Linked DNA regions of Homo sapiens: region 2 is linked to region 1. Evidence: promoter capture Hi-C in 16 types of primary human blood cells and fetal thymus (Javierre and others, 2016). All regions are on one chromosome and are shown on one strand. Each heading gives the region's core, a stretch centred on a gene start or on the middle of the fragment in contact. The rest is flanking DNA. Distances are from core to core; before and after follow the strand shown. Region 1 holds the start of TMBIM1 (transmembrane BAX inhibitor motif containing 1). Region 2 overlaps CATIP-AS2 (CATIP antisense RNA 2).

Region 1 (5,938 bases), core at 1,629-4,128:
GAAAAAAAAAAAAAAAAAAAAACTGAAAGATCAAAGTCCACTCTGCCAGTTTCTGATTCTGAATGAACAGCCTAACAGGAGGCTTCAGGGCAGAATGGCATGGCTCCCCAAGAACCTACACCAGGGGGTCACTACTGATGTGCAACTGTTTCCAAGGACATCTTCAGAGGCAGAAGTACATGGCATGTTCTCAGTATGGGGCTGTCCACACCCTCCCAAACTGTCCCCATAATGCTGTCTGGACCCTACGGCCAGCTCTTCCTGGGTGATCAGTTACGCCCGAGCTAAACAGTATATAACACTCTAGGAAAGAAAGAGTAGGAGGCAGGAAGTCCACTGACCTGGGTTCATGAACTAGCTGCAGGAATCCAGGCAAATGACCTCCCCTGGCCTCCTTTTATCCCTAAATCAGCCCACGTGGGGGAAAGGAGTAGGGACTTGTTTATGGGAGCCACAGTGGAGAAACAGAATCACCTAGCCAGGCATTTCCCAGACTGTTCTAAAGAACACGCCCCAGGAGACGTTAATGAATGAGTGCTGGAAACAGATGACTCTTGAGAAACAATCCACACCCCCTTCTTGGAAATTCACAATGGCATATTCTGCCCCTGAGAAGTCCTGCAGTAAGCAACCCTGTTCAGCTTTGTTTAACCCAGTGTTCCTTCAAACTCCCTTAAGCCTGAGCCACTTTTATCGAGGCAAACCTATTAACACCCTGTGGGATGCTGACCCAGGCCACCTTTGTATTACAGACACCCAACCCTGAGAATCATTCATATCCTAACTCCTCGTCTCTTATAACCTCTGTGCGTACACCCAGCTGCCCCTCAGAGCAGTCACATGAAGTACTAGACATGCCCTCTCACTCTCAGGGGGTCAGCCCAGTGCCAGGATCTCTGGCGAGGGTCCTCCCCTTCCCCCATTCCACACAGCTGCTATCCCACCGTGGGATTTACTGCCAAGGGCCGGGGGACATATCCAGCTACCACAGAACCAGGAAACGGGCACCCCTAACCTCACCTCTGTGCAACGGGGCAAAGCACAAATCATTACAGACAAAAGTGGGAGCTCATTAATATCTCCCTTCCCACCAATGGAGGTACCTGCCACTGTAGCCTGTCGACTTCTGGATATCATTTCTACTTCAAAACAAGACCCAGGTTTTGGCCTAGAATCCCAGAATCTTAGGGTTGGAAGATTCTGTCAAGGTCATCCCTTCCACTGTGTCCCCAACAGAATAGGTCCAGAAGGCCCATGTCATGATCAGACATGTTGTTAGCAGAACTTCTTCCCAGAGAATTGTATGAGCTTCCACTCTCTGGTCGTCCCAGTTCAGCCCTCTGAAAACACACAAGTATGTGTGTTTCCCTTCTCTGTGGCTTCTGCTTTTTCTGAAAGGCCCAGGGTGAGGCCTGCGGTTGGAGGTGCTCTGAGGTAGACAGCGTCTGGCTGAGGCACCCATTCCCAGGGGAGGAGGCTGAGCCCAGGTGGCTATTACCCCAGCTCATGACATGAGGCTCTCCCAACACTTACAGGATAACCCATCATTACCTCTCTGAAGGGCTCATTTTTACAAGTGAGGCCTTGAGGTCATAGCACAGAAAGACAGGGCCCCTGACACTGTGGTCCTGCCTCTTCCATTTAAGCTATAAACTGGTTCTCTGGATCCTCATGACTGGAGAGACAGAGAGAGGAGGCAGGTGAGAAGGAAGTATGGCTCCCCCTTTGCGCCAATAAAGCAGCCCCAGGAGGCACCTGGCTCCCCTGCCACCACTGGCCAGCCCAAAGTCGCCAGCTTGGAAACCAAAGCTCACTAATGAGATGAATATTTCAGAGCCCAGAGAACTGGACACCTGAGGGCCCTTCCATGACATCTGGCTCTGACCTGCGTTCCCAGGCCTACTTATCCCATGTCCAGGGTGCTCAGGTAGAACCCCAAACTCCTGGGTACCACGTAGAGGCCACAGAGGAGGGAGAGGAGATGGAGACCCCATAGGACAAGAATTGGTGCCGACCCCACAAGGCCAGGGCCTGGCCTCCCAGCAGCCTCCCTCTGCTTCCTCCCACTGGTCCCTGGCTCCTGCCCCAGTCTCTCCACTTGCTTTCCCTTTTCCCGTTTCTCTGTTTTGTTTTCACTCTAACCCAAAGAAGTCACGAGGAGGATGTTACTCCCCTGTAGTTCTGTGAACCCAGCCGGGAAACAGTGGCTGGAAGTGGGACTGGCAGAGGGCAAAGTCATGGTGATAGAGGTGGCCACTTCCCCATGCCAAACACTTGAGCTGCTCATTGGCTTCTGCCCCAGCTGCAAGCTAGGACCCCCCCTTCCCCACCCCTTAAATATTCACCTGTCTACACCGAGACTGGCCTCAGCGCGTGTGGGGGCAACCTGGGGTCCGTGCCAGGCCCTGGCTGTCTCCCCTCCCTCTTCCCTCTTCTCACCAGCTGAGGGCCATGAAAGCCCTCATCCCACACAGCTGGCCACTCGGGCTGGCATGGTGGATAGGCCCTGCGACAGAGAGGCCACTCGTGCCCGAAAGAGGGAACACGAGGACACCCCCAGACCCTGGCTCCGCTCACCAGTGCCCACAACACGCTGCTGGGCTCCCAAGGCTAACCAGGTGCCACAGACCCGGCCGCCCACCCGCGCGCCCAGGGAGAGCGAAACGCCAAGGGCCAGGAGGGGAGATCCCCATCTGGAACGGGCTCCTTGGGCCCAGGAGCGGGCAAGCCGGGAGCGCGCTCCGAAAAGTTTAGGCGCCCCGGCGCATGGCCGCCCCAGCCCTGGACCAGTCCCCACCGCCCACAGTCCCCAACGGCGCCGGCCCCGGCCCCCTGGCTTGCCTGCGCCGTTCCAGACGGAGCGTTCCTGGCCTCGGAGTGTTGCAAGTCCTCCGGGGCCGGGCAGGGCTAGGCTCGGCTGGGGCTCCGCGCCCCGCCCCGTCGCGCCGGCCTCGTGGGGCGGGGCCTCAGGGCGCCGCCAGGGGGCGCAGGGGTCTGTCCCGGGCGCGCGCGCCTCTCAGAGCCCCGACGACGCCTCACTAATAACACAGGGGTATTTTCGGATTTAAAGGCAATACATGATACTGATAGGAAGCTAGAAAAGACACAGAAATGCAGGGAAGAAAGTAATTTCTCTCCACCCCTCCTAGTTCCCAGGGGGAAGCGTTCGCTTTGGGTCCTTCTTTGGCTATTACATTTCTGTATGTATTTTGTTTTTCTACAGTGGGGTATATTGTATGGTGTTTTGTTTACTGCCCTTCTTTTTACTGTTTTATGATGAACATTTTTCTTCTCACTAAATAGTCTTCAAAAGCACAATCTTAATGCCGTGAAGTATTCCATTGCATGGCTATGCGGATTAAATTAATTTCCTACTGGAGGCCGTTTGTTTCCCATTTTTACATTACAAATAAATCAGTAATTAAAATCCTTGATAATTCTGTGTTTTTGAGATAAATGCACTTTTCGAGTTTAAAACTGCAAACATGCAAACCTAGAATCTCTGTTTATAATTACTCAACCAGGAAAGCAGGTGCTTTCCTCAAGTCAGAATTCAGAAGTCCTACATTGAGATGTAGATTACTACTGTTAGGTAGGTCTTAACCCTCATCTCAGTGAAGAATGCAGTAGCAAAGGAGGAAACAGTTTTGAGGAAGTTCTGAAATATTACTGGAGCCTGGGCATGGTGACTCACACCTGCGATCCTAGCACTTTTGGGAGGCCAAGGCCAGAGGATGGCTTGAGCCCAGGAGTTGGAGACCCAGCCTAGGCAACATAGAGAGACCTTGTCTCAATTTAAAAAGAGAAACATTACCGAGCCTTGCCTGAGTTTCTGTGGTTCCAAAGTCCAAGTTCTTTCCATGACACCAAGGCTGCCAGTAGTTGACCAACTCTGTTTAAAGTGCTTATCTCATGTTAATAGCTATAGGTCAGCACCACACCACCACTGAATGTCCTTTTTTTTTTTTTTTTTTTTTTCCAGACAGGGTCTCGCTCTGTCACCCAGGCTGGAGTGCAGTGGCGCCATCTCGGCTCACTGCATCCTCCTCCTGGTTTCAAGTGATTCTCCGGCCTCAGCCTCCTGAGTAGCTGGGATTACAAGTGTGTGCCACTACACCCAGCTAATTTTGTTTGTTTGCTTGTTTGTTTTGTTTGGTTTGTTTGTTTTGTAGAGATGGGTTTTCACGTTGTTGCATAGGCTGGTCTCAAACCCCTGAGCTCAAAGCAGTCAGCCCACTTTGGCCTCCCAAAGTGCTAGGATTACAGACATGAGCCACCACGTCCAGCCCCAAAACAGAGATTTAAAAAAAAAAAAAAAAAAAAAAGACAGATTTTTAAAAACTGCCCCCCATACACACACTATGTATGTTTATTTCTGTAAATATAGTTTAAGTAGGAGTTACTTAGGGGGACTAGTGGCCGTTATGGTGGGCTAGCTCCCCAGACACCCCAACCCTTCAGTGTACTTCCAGTTCCTACAGGCCAAGAACCTCATTTTAGGAAGTCCCCACCCAAGGTGTGATCTCACCAGAGCAAGTACAGTTCTGCTCAGTGTCTGTCTCCCCCTTGCTCAAGGAGTAGCGCCCTAGGTGAAATGCATGGCCCATGGAATCTGTCCAGATCCCTGACATTTTTTCATGCTCTCTACACTTGTGCTGTCTTAGTCCATCTGGGCTGCTACAACAAAAATACCTTAGAGTGGGTAATTTAGAAACAGCAGAAATGTATTGCTCACAGTTCTGGAGGGTGGGAAACGCAACATCAAGGCACCAGCAGGTTAGGTGTCTGATGAAGGCTCCCTCTGCTTCACAGATATCGTCTGAGTCCTCATATGGCCAAGGAAGGAACAAACAGACACCGCCCCCCCACCAGCCTTCCTTTTTTTTGAGATGGAATCTCACTCTGTGCAATGGCACAATTGCAGCTCACTGCAGCCTTGACCTCCCATGTACAAGCAATCCTTCCAACTCAGCCTCCTGAGTAGCTGGGACTACACACATGCACCACCACACCTGGCTAATTTTTGTATTTTTTGTAGAGACAGGGTCTCACTATGTTGCCCACGCTGGTCTTGAACTCCTGGGCTCAAGCAATTTGCCCTCCTCCACCTCCCAAAGTGCTGGGATTATAGGCGTGAGCCACTGCACCTGGCCACCAGCTTCTTTTCTAAGAGCATGAATTCCATTCCAGAGGGTTCCGCCTTCATGACCTAATCACTTCCTAAAGGCCTCACCTTTTAATACTATAACATTGAGGATTAAGTTTCAACAAATGAATGGAGTGGGGACAACAACATTCCCACCATAGCAGGCCCCTTCTCCAGAAAACACCCTCCACTTTCTAGAACCACCAGGATGGTTAATATCCAAGGAGATTCCATTTCCAACCAGCAATCACCAGCGACTCACATCTGCCCGACTGGGGGAGTGGGACATGGGGCACACGAGGCAAGCCCACACAAGCCTTGCTGCGTGCTTTTTCTCCAGAGCCCTTTTTCTGACTATAGGGTCAAAAATAACACCTGAAGCGCCTGGCCCAGAGCAGCAGTGCTTCGCTGGCAATAGGCATTCGATAAATGATGTTTTTTTCTCTTGGGCCTTATCTGCAAAATTATTAAGTAAGCTTTTATTGTCTGCCAACCAGACAGGAATTTCCGGTTCTAGAAATGAGAAGGCTGAAAGAACACAGCCCCTGCTCTCAAGAAACTCACAGTCTAAGGGAGCCAGTAAAATGACAGATTATTACAATGTTGACAGTTTGACAAGTGCTGGCAGATAAAGAAATATTCACTTGGTTCCTCCAGATCCCAGAGAAAGCTCCTAACCCAGTGTGGGGAATGGGGTGGGGGTTCGGGAAAGGAGTTCAGAGGAGGTGACACCTGAGTAGAGTGTTAGGAGGTGTTAGGAACCAGCCTATTCGGAGGAGGGGAGAAGGTTCT
Region 2 (5,938 bases), core at 1,657-4,156, 57 kb after region 1:
TCCTGCCTTGTCTGCCTGGCAAGTTCATCTCTCACGATCCCCTCAAAGGCCCCCTCCTCCAGGAAGGCAACCCCTGTGCCCCTCCCCTCCAGGCTACCTCTGCACTTTGTCAATGCTTCTCTTGTGGCACTTATCACACTGTATTTTACTTGTTTACATGTTTGTCTCCCCTTCTAGACTGTGAATCCTTAAGGGCATGGACTGTATCTTATGCATCTCTGTATTTCTGCGCCTAGCACGGTGCCTAGCACACAGTAGGCGCTCAATAAATGTTGAATGAATGAATGATTTAATCAAGACTTGATCACCCAACAGCTTGTCTTTGTTGCTACATGAGTGAAAACAGCAGAGAACTTTCTCACAGTTTTCCCATCTCAGTTCCAGGCCTGCTAACTTGCAGTTAGGCACTTCAAGAGTTTTGATCAGAAATGATGCCCAAAGGCTGGGCGCAGTGGCTCACACCTATAATCCCAGCTCTTTAGGAGGCTGAGGCGGGTGGATCACAAGGTCAGGAGTTCGAGACCAGTCTGGCCAACATAGTGAAACCTCATCTGTACTACAAATACAAAAAATTAGCCAGACATAGTGGCAGGAGCCTATAATCCCAGCTACTCAGGAGGCTGAGGCAGGAGAATCACGTGAACCCAGGAGGCGGAGGTTGCAGTGAGCCGAGATCGCACCACTGCACTCCAGCCTGGGCGACAGAATGAGACTCTGTCTCAAAAAAAAAAAAAATTTTTTTAAAAAGAGAGAGAGAAATGATGCCTAAAATATGTTCTTCCCAAGGCCCATGGGCATTTGTTCAGGGTTTACGATTTGCTTATCTCAATGTTTCCCAAAGCTTGAGATACACAAGTGTACCACTGGCCAAAGTAGGGTGGCTGTACATGGCCACAGCACAGCAATCAATTGGACTTCAAGGACACGGTCTTGGCACTAGTCTGTCTTTAATGTCTTTGGAAAGAAAGACCCGGGATCCAGGTTCATACTTTAGTTGGGAAATGTCTGTAGTTAAGCTTTAACAACATCGTTTTGTTTTCATTATATTTATATTTGGGTTCAATATTTATTTTTGACAAGTGACACTGGTTTTCAGTTCATAAAAATGATTAAAGGGCCGGGCGTGGTGGCTCACGCCTGTAATCCCAGCACTTTGGGAGGCTGAGGCAGGCGGATCACGAGGTCAGGAGATCACGACCATCCTGGCCAACATGGTGAAACCCCGTCTCTACTAAAAATACAAAACTTAGCAAGGCATGATGGTGAGCGCCTGTAATCCCAGCTACCCAGGAGACTGAGGCACGAGAATCGCTGAACCCGGGAGGCAGAGGTTGAAGTAGGCCAAGATCGCACCACTGTACTCCAGCCTGGGCAACAGAGGGAGATTCTGTCCCAAAAAAAAAAAAGATGAAATTTGGGTGGGGACAAAAAGCCACACCATATCATTATAATAGAACAACTTATATTCCTTTGGGTATATAACCAGTAATGGGATTGCTGGGTCGAATGGTAGTTCTGTCTTTAGGTCTTTGAGGAAACACCACACTGTCTTCCACTTTGGTTGAACAAATTTACACTCCCGCCAACAGTGTATAAGCGTTCCTTTTACTCTACAACCTTTCCAGCGTCTGTTATTTTTTGACTTTTTAATAACAGCCATTCTGACTTGTGTGAGATGGTATCTCATTGTGGTTTTGATTTGCATTTCTCTAATGATGAGTGATGTTGAGCTTTTATTCATATGTTTGTTGTCCACATGTATGTCTTCTTTTATTTATTTATTTATTTATTTTTAATTGATCATTCTTGGGTGTTTCTCGCAGAGGGGGATTTGGCAGGGTTATAGGACAATAGTGGAGGGAAGGTCAGCAGATAAACAAGTGAACAAAGGTCTCTGGTTTTCCTAGGCAGAGGACCCTGCGGCCTTCCGCAGTGTTTGTGTCCCTGGGTACTTGAGATTAGGGAGTGGTGATGACTCTTAACGAGCATGCTGCCTTCGAGCATCTGTTTAACAAAGCACATCTTGCACCGCCCTTAATCCATTTAACCCTGAGTGGACACAGCACATGTTTCAGAGAGCACAGGGTTGGGGGTAAGGTCATAGATCAACAGCATCCCAAGGCAGAAGAATTTTTCTTAGTACGGAACAAAATGGAGTCTCCTATGTCTACTTCTTTCTACACAGACACAGCAACAATCTGATTTCTCTATCTTTTCCCCGCATTTCCCCCTTTTCTATTCCACAAAACCACCATCGTCATCATGGCCCGTTCTCAATGAGCTGTTGGGTACACCTCCCAGATGGGGTGGCCGCCAGGCAGAGGGGCTCCTCACTTCCCAGAAGGGGTGGCCGGGCAGAGGCGCCCCCCACCTCCCAACGGGGCGGCGGCCGGGCGGAGGCGCCCCCAACCTCCCGGACGGGGCGGCTGGCCGGGCGGGGGCTGTCCCCCCCTCCCTCCCTGATGGGGCGGCTGGCCGGCCGGGGGCTGGACCCCGCCTCCCTCCCGGACGGGGCGGCTGTCTTCTTTTTTTTGTTTTTTGAGACAGAGTCTCCCTCTGTCACCAGGCTGGAGTGCAGTGGTGCGATCTCGGCTCACTACAACCTCCACCTCCCGGGTTCAAGCGATTCTCCTGCCTCAGCCTCCCAAGTAGCTGGGACTACAGGTGCATGCCACACACCCAGCTAATTTTTCGTATTTTTAGTCGAGACAGGGTTTCACCGTGTTAGCCAGGATGGCCTTGATCTCCTGACCTTGTGATCCGCCCACCTCAGCCTCCCAAAGTGCCAGGATTACAGGGGCGTGAGCCACCTCACCTGCCAATTTCTTTCTTTTTTTTTTTTTTTTTTTTTTGAGACTGAGTCTTGCTCTGTTGCCCAAGACTGGAGTGCAGTGGCACGATCTCTGCTCACTGCAAGCCCCGCCTCCCAGGTTCACACCATTCTCCTGCCTCAGGCTCCTGAGTAGCTGGGACTACAGGCGCCCACCACCACGCCCGGCTCATTTTTTGTATTTTTAGTAGAGGTGGGGTTTCACCGTGTTAGCCAGGATGGTCTCGATCTCCTGACCTCATGATCCACCCGCCTCAGCCTCCCGAAGTGCTGGGATTACAGGCATGAGCCACCGTGCCTGGCCTCAATTTCTTATTCTTAATAACTCCTACCACATTCCTCCCTGCGGCGATATCACGCTAACTGCTGTTAAGGGGTTTTGGGCAACGACTCTTTCTGGCTATTTCCTACTGAAAAGGGATGTTGAATGGGGAACAGCAGCCAGGGCTCCTGCTGGGGTTGATTTAGGGGTTCTTGGAAGAATGGCGTGTCCGTGTGTGGTTCAGTTTGCAGCACCATTTGGGGTTTGATTGCTTCTAGGCGAGAAGAAACAATTTGAGTTATAGTACTGAGTAGACTTCGTCCAAATATCAATACAAGACATATAAGCAAGAGAGGGCTTAATAAACGGATTAACCATTCCATAAAGAAGACTGTAATTTATTAAAGAGGGATTGTAGCCACTGAGGGCTGAAGCTGGCATTTTCCCTGAGCCTGTTAATAATTTTGATTTTATCTTTAGGTACCTGTAGATTTTCCTTTACTTTACTAGGTGTTAATCCAAAAGCAGCATGTTTCATTTAAAAGTGCATCACTAGGGCCAGGTGCGGTGGCTCATGCCTGTAATCCCAGCATTTTGGGAGGCCGAGGCGGGCGTATCATGAGGTCAGGAGATCGAGACCATCCTGGGTAACACAGTGAAACCCTGTCTCTACTAAACAAATACAAAAAATTGGCCAGGCGTGCTGGCGGGCACCTGTGGTCCCAGCTACTCAGGAGGCTGAGGCAGGAGAATGGTGTGAACCCGGAAGGCAGAGCTTGCAGTGAGTCAAGATTGCACCACTGCACTCCAGCCTGGGCAAGACAGCAAAACTCCATCCCCCACCAAAAAAAGTGCATCACTAAACCCAATTAAAAAGTCCTAGCTGACTTAGTGATAGTAAAACTTTTATGCTTCCTTTTTGTCAATAACTATTATCCCGGTTATAAGGATAATAATTAAGCAAAATAGGACAGCAATGGAAACTGTCCAATATTTTAGTTAGAAGGTGCTACTGTGTATAACACTATTGCAAATAGTAGAGTGAGGACAGCAATTTCCACAAGTGTAGTGTGGTAGATAATTTCCACCTAATATTTTACTTGCCGGCCGGACGCGGTGGCTTAAGCCTGCAATCCCAGCACTTTCGGAGGCCAAGGTGGGCAGGTCACCTAAGGTCGGGAGTTCAAGACCAGCCTGACCAACATGGAGAAACCCCGTCTCTACAAAAAAATACAAAAAATTAGCGGGGCATGGTGGTGCATGCCTGTAATCCCAGCTACTCAGAAGGCTGAGGCAGGAGAATTGCTTGAACCTGGGAGGCGGAGATTGCAGTGAGCCAAGATTGTGCCATTACACTCCAGCCTGGGCAACAAGAGTGAAATTCTGTCTCAAAAAAAATTTTTTACTTGCCAAGATATAGAATTCCCCTTTTAGGGTCTCTGAAGTTCCTTGGTTTTATTTTCCCAAACAAAGAAACCTCCCGGTTATGAGCACCTTACTCACTTTCTTTACCTGGCAAAATTTGCAAGATAATTGCCCAGAACTAGAGTATTGATTCACCTTTTTACCTTACCCATCGCTTTTTTTTTTCCAAGCTGCAGAAGATCACCTCTTGATTCACAGGAATAAGCAGGGTTAGTCTAAAATGTAAGCAAAAAGTTTAAAAACAATTAATGAAACTAGGATTTAATGACAAATGTATGATAAGCTTTGGATCAAAATTTTTCTCTTCAGTCCTCATTTTTGGTAAGCACTAATTATGAATAAACTTTAGTCCTTTTAGAAATAAATTATCAGGGCTGCAAAAGAAATAGCACTCAAGACCAGGTGCGGTGGCTCACACCTGTAATCCCAGCAATCTGGGAGGCCGATGTGGGCAGATCACAAGGTCAGGAGATCAAGGCCATCCTGGCTAACACGGTGAAACCCCGTCTCTACTAAAAACACAAAAAATTAGCCAGGCGTGGTGGTGGGCGCCCATAGTCCCATCTACTCAGGAGGCTGAGGCAGGAGAATGGTGTGAACCTGGGAGGCAGAGCTTGCAGTGAGCCGAGATCGCACCACTGCACTCCAGCCTGGGCCACAGAGTGAAACTCCATCTCAAAAAAAAAAAAAAAAAGAAAAAAGAAAAGAAATAGCACTCAAACATAAATTTAATTTTCTCAGCAAGGCAATTTTACTTCCATACAAGGGTGTGTCTCACGGATGGAGCAATGGCGAGAGCACACCTGAACAAGGGAGGGGAAGGGGTTCTTATCCTAACTCAGCTAGTCCCTACTGCTGTGTCTTTCCCCTATTGGCTAGGGTTGGACCACACAGTCTAAGCTAATTCTGATTGGCTATTTTAAAGAGAGCAGGGGTATGAGCCAGAGTGGTGGGATAGGTAGTTTGGCAGGAAGGATGGTTACAGAACAGGTGACTCAGGATGACTAACAACAGAGCAGGTGACCAAGGGTGACTAAGTTCAGAGCAGGTGATAGAGGCTAGGAGGGGGTTGTTTACTGTAACTAGGGGCAAGGAGATGTAAAGAACGAGAAACTTTAAAATGAAGAACAAAGAACAGGAGAGCTGAATATACTGATACATTGGTTCTTTGAAGAGGATCTCAGAACTCATTGTGCTTAACAATTTATAGGCTAAAACCTTTGAAGAGGAATTTATTATATCCTACAATCTTATACTTGGCCTGATTATTTGCGTAAAGTGCAGCAAGAATGGTTATTTTTACTTACATAGGCCTTTTGCATTGGCTTTAATGAAACTCTGTTTCACAAGGAATTTCAGATAAGACTTTTAAAGCCAAGCCCAGCCATGGGTTTGTATCCTCTAACACCTGTGAGTTGGGT

Evidence for each region. The method cuts DNA at HindIII sites, captures the fragments that hold promoters and counts their contacts. A CHiCAGO score of 5 or more calls a contact.
Region 2: a contact is called between a fragment that was not itself captured here and the fragment with the promoter of TMBIM1 in region 1, in 13 of 17 cell types (neutrophils, erythroblasts, total CD8 T cells and 10 more). The highest score is 10.5, in neutrophils.

Annotation. Positions count from the first base shown.
Region 1 is chr2:218,289,625-218,295,562 of GRCh38, forward strand. TMBIM1 (transmembrane BAX inhibitor motif containing 1) reads right to left here and starts at 2,879. Exons shown (of 12, transcript NM_022152.6): 1 at 2,842-2,879. The region is part of intron 2 of PNKD (PNKD metallo-beta-lactamase domain containing); the gene reads left to right. RefSeq lists enhancers at 28-527, 1,447-2,411, 2,412-3,374, 3,557-4,403 and a silencer at 2,657-3,136. The HindIII fragment of the contact is 24,107 bases long and covers 1-5,620 here.
Region 2 is chr2:218,346,495-218,352,432 of GRCh38, forward strand. CATIP-AS2 (CATIP antisense RNA 2) reads right to left here. Exons shown (of 4, transcript NR_125777.1): 2 at 4,666-4,732. It overlaps PNKD (PNKD metallo-beta-lactamase domain containing), which reads left to right. Exons shown (of 10, transcript NM_015488.5): 10 at 1-299. Among named protein-coding and RNA genes, the nearest start is that of CATIP, 7.4 kb to the right of the region's middle. RefSeq lists an enhancer at 2,420-2,970. The HindIII fragment of the contact is 3,784 bases long and covers 1,015-4,798 here.